Regions from separate parts of the Homo sapiens genome. Here all the other regions are linked to region 4. Evidence: promoter capture Hi-C in 16 types of primary human blood cells and fetal thymus (Javierre and others, 2016). All regions are on one chromosome and are shown on one strand. Each heading gives the region's core, a stretch centred on a gene start or on the middle of the fragment in contact. The rest is flanking DNA. Distances are from core to core; before and after follow the strand shown.

Region 1 (3,219 bases), core at 300-2,799, 460 kb after region 4:
CAAAAGGCTGGGTGCAGTGGCTCATGCCTGTAATCCCAGCACTTTGGGAGGCCGAGGTGGGCAGATCACCAAACCTGTGTGATCATTTCAATAGATGCAGAAATAGTATTTGACAAAATTCAACATGTATTCATGATAAAATCTCAACATAAGAGGTATAGAAGGAATGTATCTCGGCTGGGCATGGTGGCTCATGCCTGTAACACCAGCACTTTGGGAGGCTGAGGTGGGCGAATCATCTGAGGTCAGGAGTTCAAGACCAGCGTGACTAACATGTTGAAACTCCATCTCTAATAAAAAGATGCCCATTCTCGCCACTTATATTCAATGTAGCACAGGAAGTCTGAGCCAGTGCATTTAGGCCAGAAAATGAAAGAAACAAATGAAAATGAAAGAAACAAAATGCATCCATATAGTAAAAGAAGGAGTGAAATTTTCTGTTTTCTGATGACATGATCTTATATGTAGAAAACCCTAAAAATCCACCAAAAGAACCCTCTTATAACTGATATACAAATTGAGTAATGTTGCAGATTACAAAATGAACTTGACAATCTACATTGTTTCTATACTCTAACAATGAACTATCCAAAGAACTCAGTGAAACAATTCCATTTACGATAGAATCTAAGAAAGTACTTTGGAGTAAATTTAAGTATAGGTGAAAGAGCTGTATAGTGAAAACTATAAAACATTGATGAAAGAAATTGAAGATTCAAATAAATGGAAAGATATCCCATGTTCATGGATTTGCTTTCTATCTCCTGCAGCTCCCCTTCTCAAAATTGCTTTTCTGTTTTGTTTTTTTTTTCCCCTTCTATTGGTAATGATGTTTTTTGCTTTTATACTGCAAGCAGTGATTTTAATCTGGGGCAGTTTCTTACCCTAGACAACATCTAGAGATATTTTTGTTTGTCACGACTTAGTGTGGGGGGGATCCTACTAGCATGTAGTGGGGACAGGTGAGGGATGCTGCAAAACACCCTGCAATGGAAAGTCCCCACAGCAAAGAATCATTCAACGGAGAATATCAATAGTTTAAAGGTTGAGAAGCCCTGCCTTAAAGTAACCTTTCTCCCCTGCATCTACCTGCAAAGTATGAAGAGACAAAAGCCAAGCAGAAGTAATGGTTGATTGTTTTAAGGAACTCAGAGCAGTAAGAAATGTTTCACTGGAGAAGGAAGATTTCTGAAGTCCCAAATTAGGGTACCAGTCCTTCCTATCTTGGAGTCATGGGATTTTCTTGTGGTTGAGATGGGAACACCTGCCAAAAAGAAATCCTCTTGCCTGATACTGATGCTTATGCAGTTCCTCCCATTATTTACTCAGCATCTTGCAGTATTACATAACTACTCAGGTCTCTTATGTGTTCTAATTGTTTATATTCAACATGTCACTGATTTTGCTATTCATTATTCATTTTTTGTCATTTTGTCAGTTAAAATGGCCAGTGGATCTGCCTTTGCCTGAAAGAAAGACTTCATTGCTCTTAAAATTGTGAGATGTTGAAAGATTTCATATTTTTGATTGTGGCATGGTTCTAATCATACTAATCTAGCTAGAACTCAGTTCTTGCTTTAATCTTGCCCTGCTTGAACATGAAGCTATTTTCATTTTGTACTATATTATTTATGCAGTATGGTAAAATGTCACTTTGCCTCAAGGTGACCTTTGAAGTTATAGGGAGCCTATGTTTTGATTAAAATACATTGTGTGGGGTGTTAAGCACTTTTAGTGTATAAGGGAAGATGAAGGATTTCACAGGGCAAGTGGGTGGCTGTAAATTTTTACATAGAGATCAAGATTTGTTTTTTAGCATGAGCAGAATCCACGTGGTATTTGGAGAAGAATTGTGTAGACTTATGCTATGTTATGGCTTTTTTTTTAAGAAAATGCAGAACAAGGCAAAGCGAACAAGAAAAAAAAATGAGATAGGACTTAAAATGACTTCATAGGAGATGAAGCCTTTAAAGTTCATTGTTAACTACAGGGAGAGCCTCTAAATTCAGAAACCAAAAGGAAAGAACCCATAGACAAACCTAGGTTGTTTGTAACATAAAATATTTGTAACATCATAGATTTCCTTATCTTTTCACTGTATAGTTTTTTTTTACTTGTATTACTCTTGAATTTTTAGGGGCAGTCATACATATGGTGGATAGGTGTGAGGAGGTAGGACAATAATTTATGAAATTCCTGTATAATTTTTTAGAGGAATATACTTAACCAAGTACAGTTTTATTCTAAAATTTCTTCATGTTATAGAAAGATTTACCTATATATTTAAAATGACAGTCTCTTTGACTATAGCGTACCAAGAAAGGCAAAAGGAGAATGTGCTTGAGAAACCACAGTAAGCCAAGCAGAATATCAGTCCCTTGGGATTTAATGGAAGAGTATTCTTGGTGCTTTCTTGTAGTAAACTGGAGTTCATAAAATCATGAACTATGTAAGGGAATTTAGACTTCTCACAGGGCAGAATTGCTATAATATATGTACTCTGTTTTGTCTCATCTTAATATTTATGACTTAATTTCATGAAATCAGTTTCACTTTTAAGTTTTAAGTTAATTTCGTATTTTTTTCAGTGAATATCACCTCTGCCAGGCAATTAACCGGCTGTAGTCGCTTTGGTCATATTTTCCCTTCATCTGCTTACCAGCACATTAAGATGCATAAGAGAATTCTGGGGCACTTGTCATCTGTCTACTGTGTAGCATTTGACCGAAGCGGGAGAAGAATTTTTACAGTGAGTGTAAAATTTATAATATGGTAACATATATAGAATTACAACAATTGAAGCCAGACTGCATGGCATTGCATTGTGCTTTGTAAGCAGTTCACTTTTTTTGGATATATGGGTGCAGAAAAAGATGAGTGGAAATTGAAAAAAGTTTCTCATTTTATATAAGTAAACGAATGAACAAAAATGTTTACTATCTTCTTGGAAGTTTAATTTTAAAAAGTTAAATCTTCAGAAGACCTTATATTCTAGAAGTGGTTAATTTATGTGAAACAAGTGTACTCAATTTCATTTCATTCAGTTTTAACAAACATTTATTAAATGTTTGTTAATGTGTCACTCAGTGTAATTGCTGCCAGTTTTCCCTAAATAATGATTTCATCACTTTTTTTGATTAGATAGTTGAACTACACTGTGATGAAGATTATAGCTATTTTTTATATCTTTTTTTTGGTTTCAGTACTGGTTATTTTTTA
Region 2 (3,251 bases), core at 260-2,759, 370 kb after region 4:
GGACAACATAGTGAGATCTTGTCTCCACAAAAAAAAAAAAAAAAAATTAAAAAGTTAGGCAGGCATGGTGGTATATACCTGTAGTCCCAGCAGAGGTGGGAGGATCACTTAAGCCTAGGAGGTGGAGTGTGCAGTAAGACATAATCACAATACTGCACTCCAACCTTGGCAACAGAGTGAGATCCTGTCTCAAAAAAATAAAACAAATACATGATATGATTTCAATTTTCTTAAATTTGTTAAGACTTGTTTTGTGGACTAAAATATATATTTTTTCCCAGAGTGTTCCATGTGCAGTTGAGAAGAATGTGTATTCTACAGCTGTTGCATGGAATATTCTATGAATGTCTGTTAGGTACATTTGTTCTAGAGTACAGTTTAAATCTGATGTTTCTTTGTTGACTTTCTGTCTGGATGATCTTTCCACTGTTGAAAGTGATGAGTTGCAGTCCCATAATATTATTATATTGCAGTCTATCTCTCCCTTCAGATTGATTAATATTTGCACATGTGTGCAGATGCTTCAATGCTGAGTGCATATATATTTACAGTAGTTATATCCTCTTGCTAAATCAACCATTTTATCATTATATAATATTTTTTGTCTCTTTTTACAGTTGTAGTTGGCCATCAGTGATGCAGGCTAAAAGTTGAGTTCATTTTGCAGGGGCTAAGTGTTTTCCTCTGGCAACAAGGCAGGTTTGTAGCCTCAGTCTAAGGCACCAGTCTGGAGTCAGGTACCATGGGGTGTGCCCAGTGCTGGGTTCTACTGTGGCAGGCCCGGTATTGGGATCTAAGGCAAAGTTTCTCTCTTTTCCCAAAAAGGATGGTATGTGTCCCCACTCTGTGTTGCATGAAGTTGTGGGAGAGGTAATGCAGGTAATGTCACACTGTTCTTTCTACCCTCTCCAATGCGTCTTTTTTTTATTATGCTATAACCAACTACTGTGATCTCTCATCTGGTTCTCTTAGATTTTGTGAAGGTATTTTCATGTATGGAGAATTGTTCAAATTATTGTTTCTGCAGGGAGATGACTGCTGAAGAGTCCTATCCCACCATCTTGCTCCAGTTTCTCTATGTCTTACCACAGTCAATTTTAGAACATTTCATCACATCCCCCCCAAAACCCACATCAATTGGCAATCACCCCCATTTTATCCCAAGCCTTTCAGTCCTAGGCAACCAATAATCTACTTTCTATCTTAATAATTATTCTAATCTGGACATGTCATATGTGGTGTTTTGTGAATGAATTCTTTTAGTATAGTATTTTCAAAGTTCATTCATGTTTATACTATGTATCAGTACTTCTTCTCTTTAAATTCTGGAATAATATTTTATTGTGTGGATATGCTATATTTTGTTTACCTATTCATCAGTCGATGGACATTTAAGTTGTCTCCACTTTCTTGCTATTATGAAAATTCATGTACAATTTTTGAGATGGATATGTGTTTTTAATTCTCCTCAGTATATATCCAGAAGTGGAATTGTTGGGTAACTCTGTTTAGATAATTGAGGAACTGCCAAATAATGTTCCAAAGCAGTATATGAAGGTTCCAAATTACATTCCTATCGGTAGCATATGAAGGTTCCAATTTTGCCACATCTGTGTCAACATTCGTTATCTATTTGATAACAGTCATTATACTGTGTATGAAGTAATTTTGATGTGTATTTCTCTTTTGGCTAAAGAGGCTGAGGATCTTTTCATGTAATTATTCAATTTTTTTTGTCTATTTTCTAGTTGGGTTATTTACCTTTTTATTTTTAATTTCTAAGAGATTTTTACATATTGAAGCTCCTTATGTCAGATACATAATTAGCAAATAATTTTCCCATTATGTAGATTTTCTTTCTGTTTTCTTGATAGTGCCTTTTGAGGCACAAAAGTATTTTATTTTGATGAAGTCCAATTTATATACATATATATATATATATATATATATACACATTTTTTTAACTTGAGCTTTTGGCATCATACTTAAGAAACCATTTTCAATTCCGAGATTATGAAGATGTATGTCTATGCTTTCTTCTAATGGTTTCATAGTTTTAGCTCTTACGTTTATGTCTTTGATCCAGTTTGAGTTCATTTTGTATATGGTGTGAAGTAGAGCTCCAAATTCATACTTTTTCATGTGGATATCCAGTTGTTTTAGCACCATTTGTTGAAGAGACTATTCCTTATTCCTTCCCCCATTAAATTCTTTTGACATTCTTGTCAAAAGTCAATTTACTAGAAATGCGAAGGTGTACTTCTATACCCCCAATTATTTTCTATTGATCTATGTCTATCCTTATGCCAATACTTCACTGTCTTAAATACTAAAACATTGTAGTAAGTTTTGATATCAAGAAGTGAGTCCTCCAACTTTGTTCTTTTTCAAGTCTCTTTTGACTATTCTGGTACTTTTCATTTCCAAAATAGTTTTAGGATCAGTTTGCCAGTTTCTGGGGGGGGAAAAACCACCTGGAATTTTTACACACATTGTATCATTAATACGTCTGTAAATTAATGCAATGCCTGTGAAAGTATTGCAGTATTAACAATAGTGAGTCTTCTGATACATAAACATAGGCTCCCTTTCCATTTGTTTAGGTCTTCTTTAACTGCTTTTAACAGGTTTTTGTGGTTTTTAGTGTAGACGCCTTGAATGGCCTTGGTTAAATTTATTCTCAACTATTTGATTCTGTTTGGTGCTACTGTGAATGGAATTGCTTTCTTAATTTTAGTTTCAGAGTGTTCACTGAAAGTATATAAAAATACAACTGATTTTGTACATTGATTTTTTTTATCCTGAAGATTTACATAACTCATTTATTCGTTATAATAGATTTTAATGGATCATTTAGGATGTTCTACATAAAAAATCATGGCATCTATAAATAGAGTTTTTATCTTCCCTTTCTAAACAGGATGTCTTTCATTTCATTTTTCTTGCCTAATTGCCCTTGCTGGAACCTGCCATAAAATGTTGAACAGAAGTGATGAAAAGAGACATCCTTTTTGAGCTTAATCCCTAAGATCAGTTAAGAATAAGCTCAGTCTTTACCCCATGAAGTATTATGTTAGCTGTGGGGTATTTTATAGATGCCTTTTGTCAAGTTGAAGTAGTTCCCTTTTATTCCTAGTTTATTCAGTGTGTGTGTGTGTGTGTGTGTGTATGTGTGTGTGTGTTTATCATGAAGGAGTGTTGGGTTTTGTCAGATGCTTTTTCTGCAACTTTAAGATGGTCAAGGGGTCAAG
Region 3 (3,452 bases), core at 488-2,987, 420 kb after region 4:
TGGTGTCATCTATTCTGGGTCTTTTGTGGTTCCATATACATTTTAGGATTATTTCTTCTATTTCTGTGAAGAATGTCATTGGTATTTTGATCGGGATTGCGTTGAATCTGTAGATTACTTTGAGTAGAATGGACATTTTAACAATAATGATTCTTATAATTCATGAATATGGAATATCTTTCCTTTTTTTGTATCTTCAATTTCTTTCATCAGTGTTTTATAGTTTTCATTGTAGAGATCTTTCTCTTCTTTGGTTAGGTTTATTCCTAGGTATTTTATTTTATTTATAGCTATACTAAATGGGATTACTTTCTTGATTTCCTTTTCATATTGTGCTCTGTTGGCATATAGAAATGCTACTGATTTTTGTATGCATGCTTATATTTCTAAACTGAGGCAAGGGTATGATGCAATAAGACTGTATTTTTAAACATTTTTTTCCCGAGGAAATCTCAACTGCACGACCCCTACTATGCCCCAGTTCAGCAGGAAGCAGTTAGAGCAGTCATCGGCCAACCTCCCCAACAGCACTTGGGTTTTCTTGTTGAGAGGGGGGACTGAGAGACAGGACTAGCTGGATTTCCCAGGCCGACTAAGAATCCCTAAGCCTAGCTGGGAAGGTGACCACATCCACCTTTAAACAAGGGGCTTGCAACTTAGCTCACACGTGACCAATCAGGTAGTAAAAATAGCTCACTCAAATCCTAATTAGGCAAAAACAGAAGATAAAGAAATAGCCACTCATCTATCGCCTGAGAGCACACGGGGAGGGACAATGATCGGGATATACCCAGGCATTCGAGCCAGCAACGGCAACCCCCTTTGGGTCCCCTCCCATTTTATGGGAGCTCTGTTTTCACTCTATTAAATCTTGCAACTTCAAAAAAAAAGAATTTTGTTTTTTATCTTTAGTACAATTGGCATATAGCAATATCCTGTAATTTACATAGTAAGCTTGTAATTTACACTGTATACAGCTCAGGACCCTTGCATTAATTCTAAAGCCAAATTAATATTTACGTGTTGCTCTAAGCTTTTATTTAGCATTGATTGACTCTTGACTTATTGGCCATTGTGTCGTTATATGTCACTCTTCATGCCAGAATTCACTTGGAGGTGAGGAATCTATCTCTTGTTTATATGTAAATGTAAATGGAAAGAAAGTAGTCTAATTTAAACTGTTTATCTGGCTGAGGTGACTGGGTTTCTGCCAGGAATATTTGTCACCCTCTCTAATTTTATGTAGTTCCTATATCTTGCCTATGTATCATACTTTTGCTAGGTTTTGCTTTTTGTGGCCTGCCTCACTCTACTTACCACCTTCCTCCTCTTTGTACTCTCATAATTGTGCCTGAAGTGAGTTGCTTCTGAAGCCATTACTTTTATATACCTGGAGAAGATCAAGAGATTCTTGTCACACCTGCAAGTAATTAAACTGGAATATAAACTCCATCTTTTGTATTTTCCACATTGTAAGTGCTCACTAAATATTAAATAGATGGAAGTGCTATGATTGTTGCCACATGGAAACTGAAGTATCCTTTTAAGATGTGTTTATGGTTTTATATAGCCTATATGTGTTTCTAGCCCCTTATATCCATTTCTGAAATCAGTATTGTAGTAATATTAGGATTAATAATTTAGTATCTTTTTAAAAAATGAAACAGATTTTATTATATGAGGGCTTATTTTATTATATAAAATATAATGAAAAAAGTATTTTCTCCATTTAATCCTAGTATGAACATGTTTTTTCTTTCCTCATTATTATTCCTTTAGATTTTTCTTTCAGTATACACCAAAGTATTAATCTTTTGATATTTGTTCTATATGTTTAACTCAGTACTTTATAGAGATAGAACTTTATGCTTCACAAAGGGAAGAGGTAAAACAGTGCCAGGTTTGTTTAGTTGGAGGAAAAGGCAGTCTGAAACTTCTGTGTATATTAACCAAATTAAGTTAAAAAGTTTAGGAGAGGATTTAAAAAAAATAAAGATTTGGGATGTTTATCATTCCAAATTATATAAGTGAACTTTGCAGAAAGCCTGAAAGGAATTGTAAATAATATTTCTTTGCCATATTTCACTTAATATTACCCTAGCAAAAAGATGTTCAATGGCCATGAATATGAATATCAATAGCCTGTAGAACTTATTAGTGTTATTTAAGTTTTACTGTGGATTGGTGTTATGAGATGTGATTGGCATCAACTTTGGAGACTGTATACTTTTACTATTGCTGGTTAAGGTTTTAGAGACATAATTTGATCCATAGAATCAAATCCATGAAAGAAGTAATTCTATACCTTTGTAATTTTACTAGAATTATCACATTTTATTCATATTCATTTTTGTCGCTTTCGTGGCTTCTTTCAAGATTTTAGTCTATATTAATCTGTTTAGTTGTTGGAGTTATTTTAGGAAACCCCCAACGAAGCTTCACCAAAAACTAGCTGGGACTACAGGCATGTACTGCCATGCCTGGCTAATTTTTTTATTTTTTTTGTAGAGACAGGGTTGCCCAGGCTGGTCTTGAACTTCTGACCTCAAGCGATCTGCTTTGCTTCCCAAAGTGTTGGGATTACAGGCATGAACCGCTCCACCTGGCCACTTTCCAGTGTTTTTGGCAGTATTTTCTTAGTCTATTATTGTCCTCTCTACTTAATAGAAACTAATATGCTTACTACACTTTAACCAATCAGAGGATTGCATACATTCTATTTTCTTACTTTTTTTTTTGAGACAGAATTTCTCCCTTGTTGCCCAGGCTGGAGTGCAGTGGCACAATCTCGACTCACTGCAACCTTCACCTCCTGGGTTCAAGCGATTCTCCTGCCTTAGCCTCCTGAGTAGCTGGGATTGCAGGCATGCGCCACCACGCCCAGCTAATTTTTTGTATTTTTAGTAGAGATGGGGTTTCACCATGTTGACCAAGCTGGTCTTGAACTCCTGACCTAAGTTGATTCACCTGCCTCGGCCTCCCAAAGTGCTGGGATTACAGGCATGAGCCACCATGCCCGACCACGTTCTGTTTTCTAATTAAATTGTTTGTTTTTGAGATGGAGTCTTGCTCTATTGCCCTGGCTGGAGTGCAATGGCACCATCTTGGCTGACTGCAAACTCCACCTCCCAGGTTCAAGCAATTCTCATGCCTCAACCTGCCAAGTAGCTGGGATTACAGGTGTGCACCACCACGCTCAGCTAATTTTTGTGTTTTTAGTAGAGACAGGGTGTCACCATGTTGGCTGGGCTGGTCTCAAACTCCTGACCTCAAGTGATCCACCTGCCTTGGCCTCTCAAAGTGCTGGAATGACAGGTGTGAGCCACCGTGCCTGGCCAAATTTTTTAAAAATAAAACTAATGTTGACCAGGTTATTTTTTTGTAAAAGAGAAAATACGAATCCAAGGTTATTTTAGCTCTGCTTAATTACGTACAGCTTGTTTTCTGAAAAA
Region 4 (3,462 bases), core at 593-3,092:
TGAATCTACTTTTAAAGAAGGGGTAGAGGAAGGAGAAAGCAAAGAATAAATAACAGTATTGAAACTGTATGACTCCCAAAGCAAAACTAACTGCCTGATCTGTTCAGTCTCATTAGGGGTTTAACTAAAGGCATTAAGTTGGACTTTACAATTATTGGATTGAGTTGAGACTCTGAGCAACTCAAATTTTACTTTGAAATATTAGACAACATGTATGGAAAATAATAAAGCAAGAGGCTCATAAAATTAGGTCCAAAGGAAATATAAAAGGTGTTCTTTTTTTTAACCTAAACTTATTCAAAAAATGTAAGATTAAATTTTCTGATATTCCAAAATTGCATAAACATATCCACACATGGTGGCCAGAGAAGACAAAGTTCAAATATCAAGGTTCTTGTGATTTAACATAACCTCCACTTCCATTCCACATCCTCTCAGGTGTAAATAAACAAGCCAAAAAATAAAAACACACAACAACCTGGATTAGCTGCTGCTCTAAAGCTCAAGAAGAGGGAAGGGGTTCCTATACCCTACAATCTGAACCCACACATCTGTTCTTGCCACTGTCTGCCTTTCTCTTGAGTTGTAAAAAGCAGAAGCACTTTCATTTATCATGGATATACACTCATCTTGCACCCCAGTTTATCATATTCTCCCGACAGCTGCTGAAAATTTGTTATTCTAAATTAAGAGTAAGTGAATCCATGAAAGAGAAAGTCCTATCATTTGAAGCAGCAGCAACTCAGGCTGCCACTACACAAGAAGCCACTGAGCTCCCTATCCAGTTCTCAATATACTTGAAGCAGTGAGAGAAATTTAAAAGTAAAATATTTTGAAAGAATAGAAACAGTCAAAATAAGGGACAATATGGGGGGAAAACTGAATCTCGTGTCATATTAAGTTAAAAAAAAATTTACGTCATTGTTACCAACTTCCCCTCCCAATTTGTCTAGTTCTAACAGGCCTTCAAGCTCAAGTTAACCACTTTCTTCTACACACTCTCAAAATAACTCTATTACCAGGGTCTCACTCACCCAGAATAATTACAATGCCTCGGTAGGCCTCCACTCAATCCCCACCAGTTACAGCATGTGTACCCCCATCCTTTACAGAAGTGCACTCCTCCTTGTCTCAGTACTTAGGGCGTATTCATCAAATGTCTCACTCTTGAAACTCACCAGTGTGCGATTTTACTTGACTTCACGTAACCCTAAAGACCGTATAGCACCATCTCCCATCTCCCAAAACTTGGTAGCTTTCGTTTTCCTTCAAAGCAGAAATGTGCCCCCCAACGTCACGAAGCAAACAAAGCTGAACTCTATGTGGAAAAAAAAAAAAATGAAATCGATGCAACAAAGGGAAAAAAGGGAAGAAGAAGGGTGGGATCGGGGATGCATGAGTCTTCCAAAGGAGAAGCTGCCAGAGGAACTTCTGCATTTTAATGGTTCTGGGGCAGCAGAGGACTGGTGTGTAGGAAAACAACAAAGGTGGACTCCCCACTCTCCTTACCGCTGTAGAGCCAGAGGAAGATGCAATATATACACGGATCACCATCCTGGGAACAGCGGCTGCGGTTGTTTGGGTCCTGAAAAGGGCTGTGGAGCAGCTGCAGCAATGGCTGGAATCCAGCTAGGGGCTGAAACAGCGGTTGGCAGAGAAGGGTGGGGGAAGGTGGAAGGAGAACTCGCCAGAGCCCCGCCTCCGCCTTTAGCAGCTTCCACCGAGCTCTCTAAGCGCTGCAGTTCCAGCCCAAAACCCCGGAAGGAACAGGCTGTTTGCATCAATTCTATTTTTTTTTAATAGGGAATCTCGAATAGCACCGCGAGATCTGTTGAAACATTGATTTTTGACGATTCCTTCCCTGAGAAGAGGGCGAGGAGAAGAAGAAAGAAAAAGGAGAACTGAATTGAATTAGATTAGCATGAAGGACCTTTTCACGCGGAGACTAAAAGTACTGCGCATAACTTCCTGCTCAGAAATATATGCAAATAAGAAGACAGATCCTGAAAGAGCAAGCTGTATGTTGAAAACCCATGTTCTCAAAGCCTTGCGCATTTTAAGATTCCTATTACGTAGTGATTTTTCTGATCTTAGCTCGTTGTAGGAATTAGGCACTAAAGTACTGAGCAATGCTGCAGAGTTTTGAAGGAAAGTTTCAGGTTTCCTTAAGCCCAGAAATGGCAGGATTGGTTTTCTTTTTGAATTTTGTGTTTTGTTAAATTAGGGAACCCTGCTTCCGTGGGAATTTGCAGGAGGCCTGATTGGCAAGTTTAAGAATGAAGGAATAAATTACAAAGAAAAGATTGAAAATATTGTGTAAAAAGATGGATGATTTTTGTTTTGTTTTGCTTTTTAACTGACTGAAGTAAGGGATTTGGGAGAACATATTGCAGATGTTGAAATGGTGAAGAGAGAGATCAGATGGTTATTTGTAGCTCTAAGGAAATGAGCAAACAGTTAATAATGTCCAGAGACAGACCATATACTTCAAAGTGTAGTTTTAGGTTCCCAGATTATGTTAAATGAACAGAAAAAAAGGAATTTGCAAGATGAATGAGAGTGGAGAGGAGTCAGTCGCTTGTCCTACTTCTTTTCCTTTGCTGTTTTTCCACTGTCTCCAGTCTAGTGGTTTACTGTCTTTGCCTAGGCTCAGTGCTTACAATAGCTTTGTTAACTGTTCCCTACCCACAGGTTTTCCCTTCTCCAATCTGTCTTAAATACTAATTCCAAATTAATCTCTTTACATGTTGTCCTTAAAACAACCTCAAGAGGTGGGTACTATTACATTAATTTTACAGATGAAGAAACTGAAACTCAGAAAAATAGTTTTCCTAAAATCATATGGTTAGTACATTCCAGAGTTAGGAACTCCAGAGGCCACCTTCTTATTTTTTTTTAATTATACTTTAAATTCTAGGGTACATGTGCACAACGTGCAGGTTTGTTACATAGGTATACATGTGCCATGTTGGTTTGCTGCACCCATCAACTCGTTGTTTACATTAGGTATTTCACCTAATGCTATCACTCCTCCAGCCCCCCACCCCCCGACTGGCCCCGGGGTGTGATGTTCCCTGTCCTGTGTCCATGTGTTCTCATTGTTCAACTCCCACATATGAGTGAGAACATGTGGTGTTTGGTTTTCTGTCCTTGTGATAGTTTGCTTAGAATGATGGTTTCCAGCTTCATCCATGTCCCTGCAAAGGACATGAACTCATCCTTTTCTATGGCTGCATAGTATTCCATGGTGTACATGTGCCACATTTTCTTAATCCAGTCTATCACTGGGACATTTGAGTTGGTTCCAAGTCTTTGCTATTATGAATAGTGCTGCAATAAACATACATGTGCATGTGTCTTTATTATAGAAAGATTTATAATCCTTTGGGTATATGCTCAGTAATGAGATTGCTGGGTCAAATGACATTTCTAGTCTAGATCCTTGGGGGATCGCCACACTGT

Evidence for each region. Contacts are between HindIII fragments. The CHiCAGO score rates a contact against its expected background, and 5 or more counts as called.
Region 1: a contact is called between a fragment that was not itself captured here and the fragment with the promoter of HMGN5 in region 4, in 2 of 17 cell types (activated CD4 T cells and non-activated CD4 T cells). The highest score is 6.4, in activated CD4 T cells.
Region 2: a fragment that was not itself captured here is called in contact with the fragment with the promoter of HMGN5 in region 4 in 1 of 17 cell types (neutrophils); the score reaches 5.9 in neutrophils.
Region 3: a fragment that was not itself captured here is called in contact with the fragment with the promoter of HMGN5 in region 4 in 2 of 17 cell types (neutrophils and non-activated CD4 T cells); the score reaches 6.8 in neutrophils.

Annotation. Positions count from the first base shown.
Region 1 is chrX:80,745,099-80,748,317 of GRCh38, reverse strand. BRWD3 (bromodomain and WD repeat domain containing 3) reads left to right here. Exons shown (of 41, transcript NM_153252.5): 7 at 2,589-2,749. Among named protein-coding and RNA genes, the nearest start is that of BRWD3, 63 kb to the left of the region's middle. The HindIII fragment of the contact is 3,502 bases long and covers 1-3,219 here.
Region 2 is chrX:80,828,627-80,831,877 of GRCh38, reverse strand. No RefSeq gene overlaps it. Among named protein-coding and RNA genes, the nearest start is that of BRWD3, 20 kb to the right of the region's middle. The HindIII fragment of the contact is 6,417 bases long and covers 1-3,251 here.
Region 3 is chrX:80,778,602-80,782,053 of GRCh38, reverse strand. All of the region lies in intron 6 of BRWD3 (bromodomain and WD repeat domain containing 3), which reads left to right. Among named protein-coding and RNA genes, the nearest start is that of BRWD3, 30 kb to the left of the region's middle. The HindIII fragment of the contact is 1,403 bases long and covers 1,036-2,438 here.
Region 4 is chrX:81,200,293-81,203,754 of GRCh38, reverse strand. It overlaps HMGN5 (high mobility group nucleosome binding domain 5), which reads left to right and starts at 1,842. Exons shown (of 7, transcript NM_030763.3): 1 at 1,842-2,018. It overlaps SH3BGRL (SH3 domain binding glutamate rich protein like), which reads right to left and starts at 1,653. Exons shown (of 4, transcript NM_003022.3): 1 at 1,510-1,653. The coding sequence starts at 1,554. RefSeq lists enhancers at 1,458-1,627, 1,748-1,997. The HindIII fragment of the contact is 6,013 bases long and covers 1-3,462 here.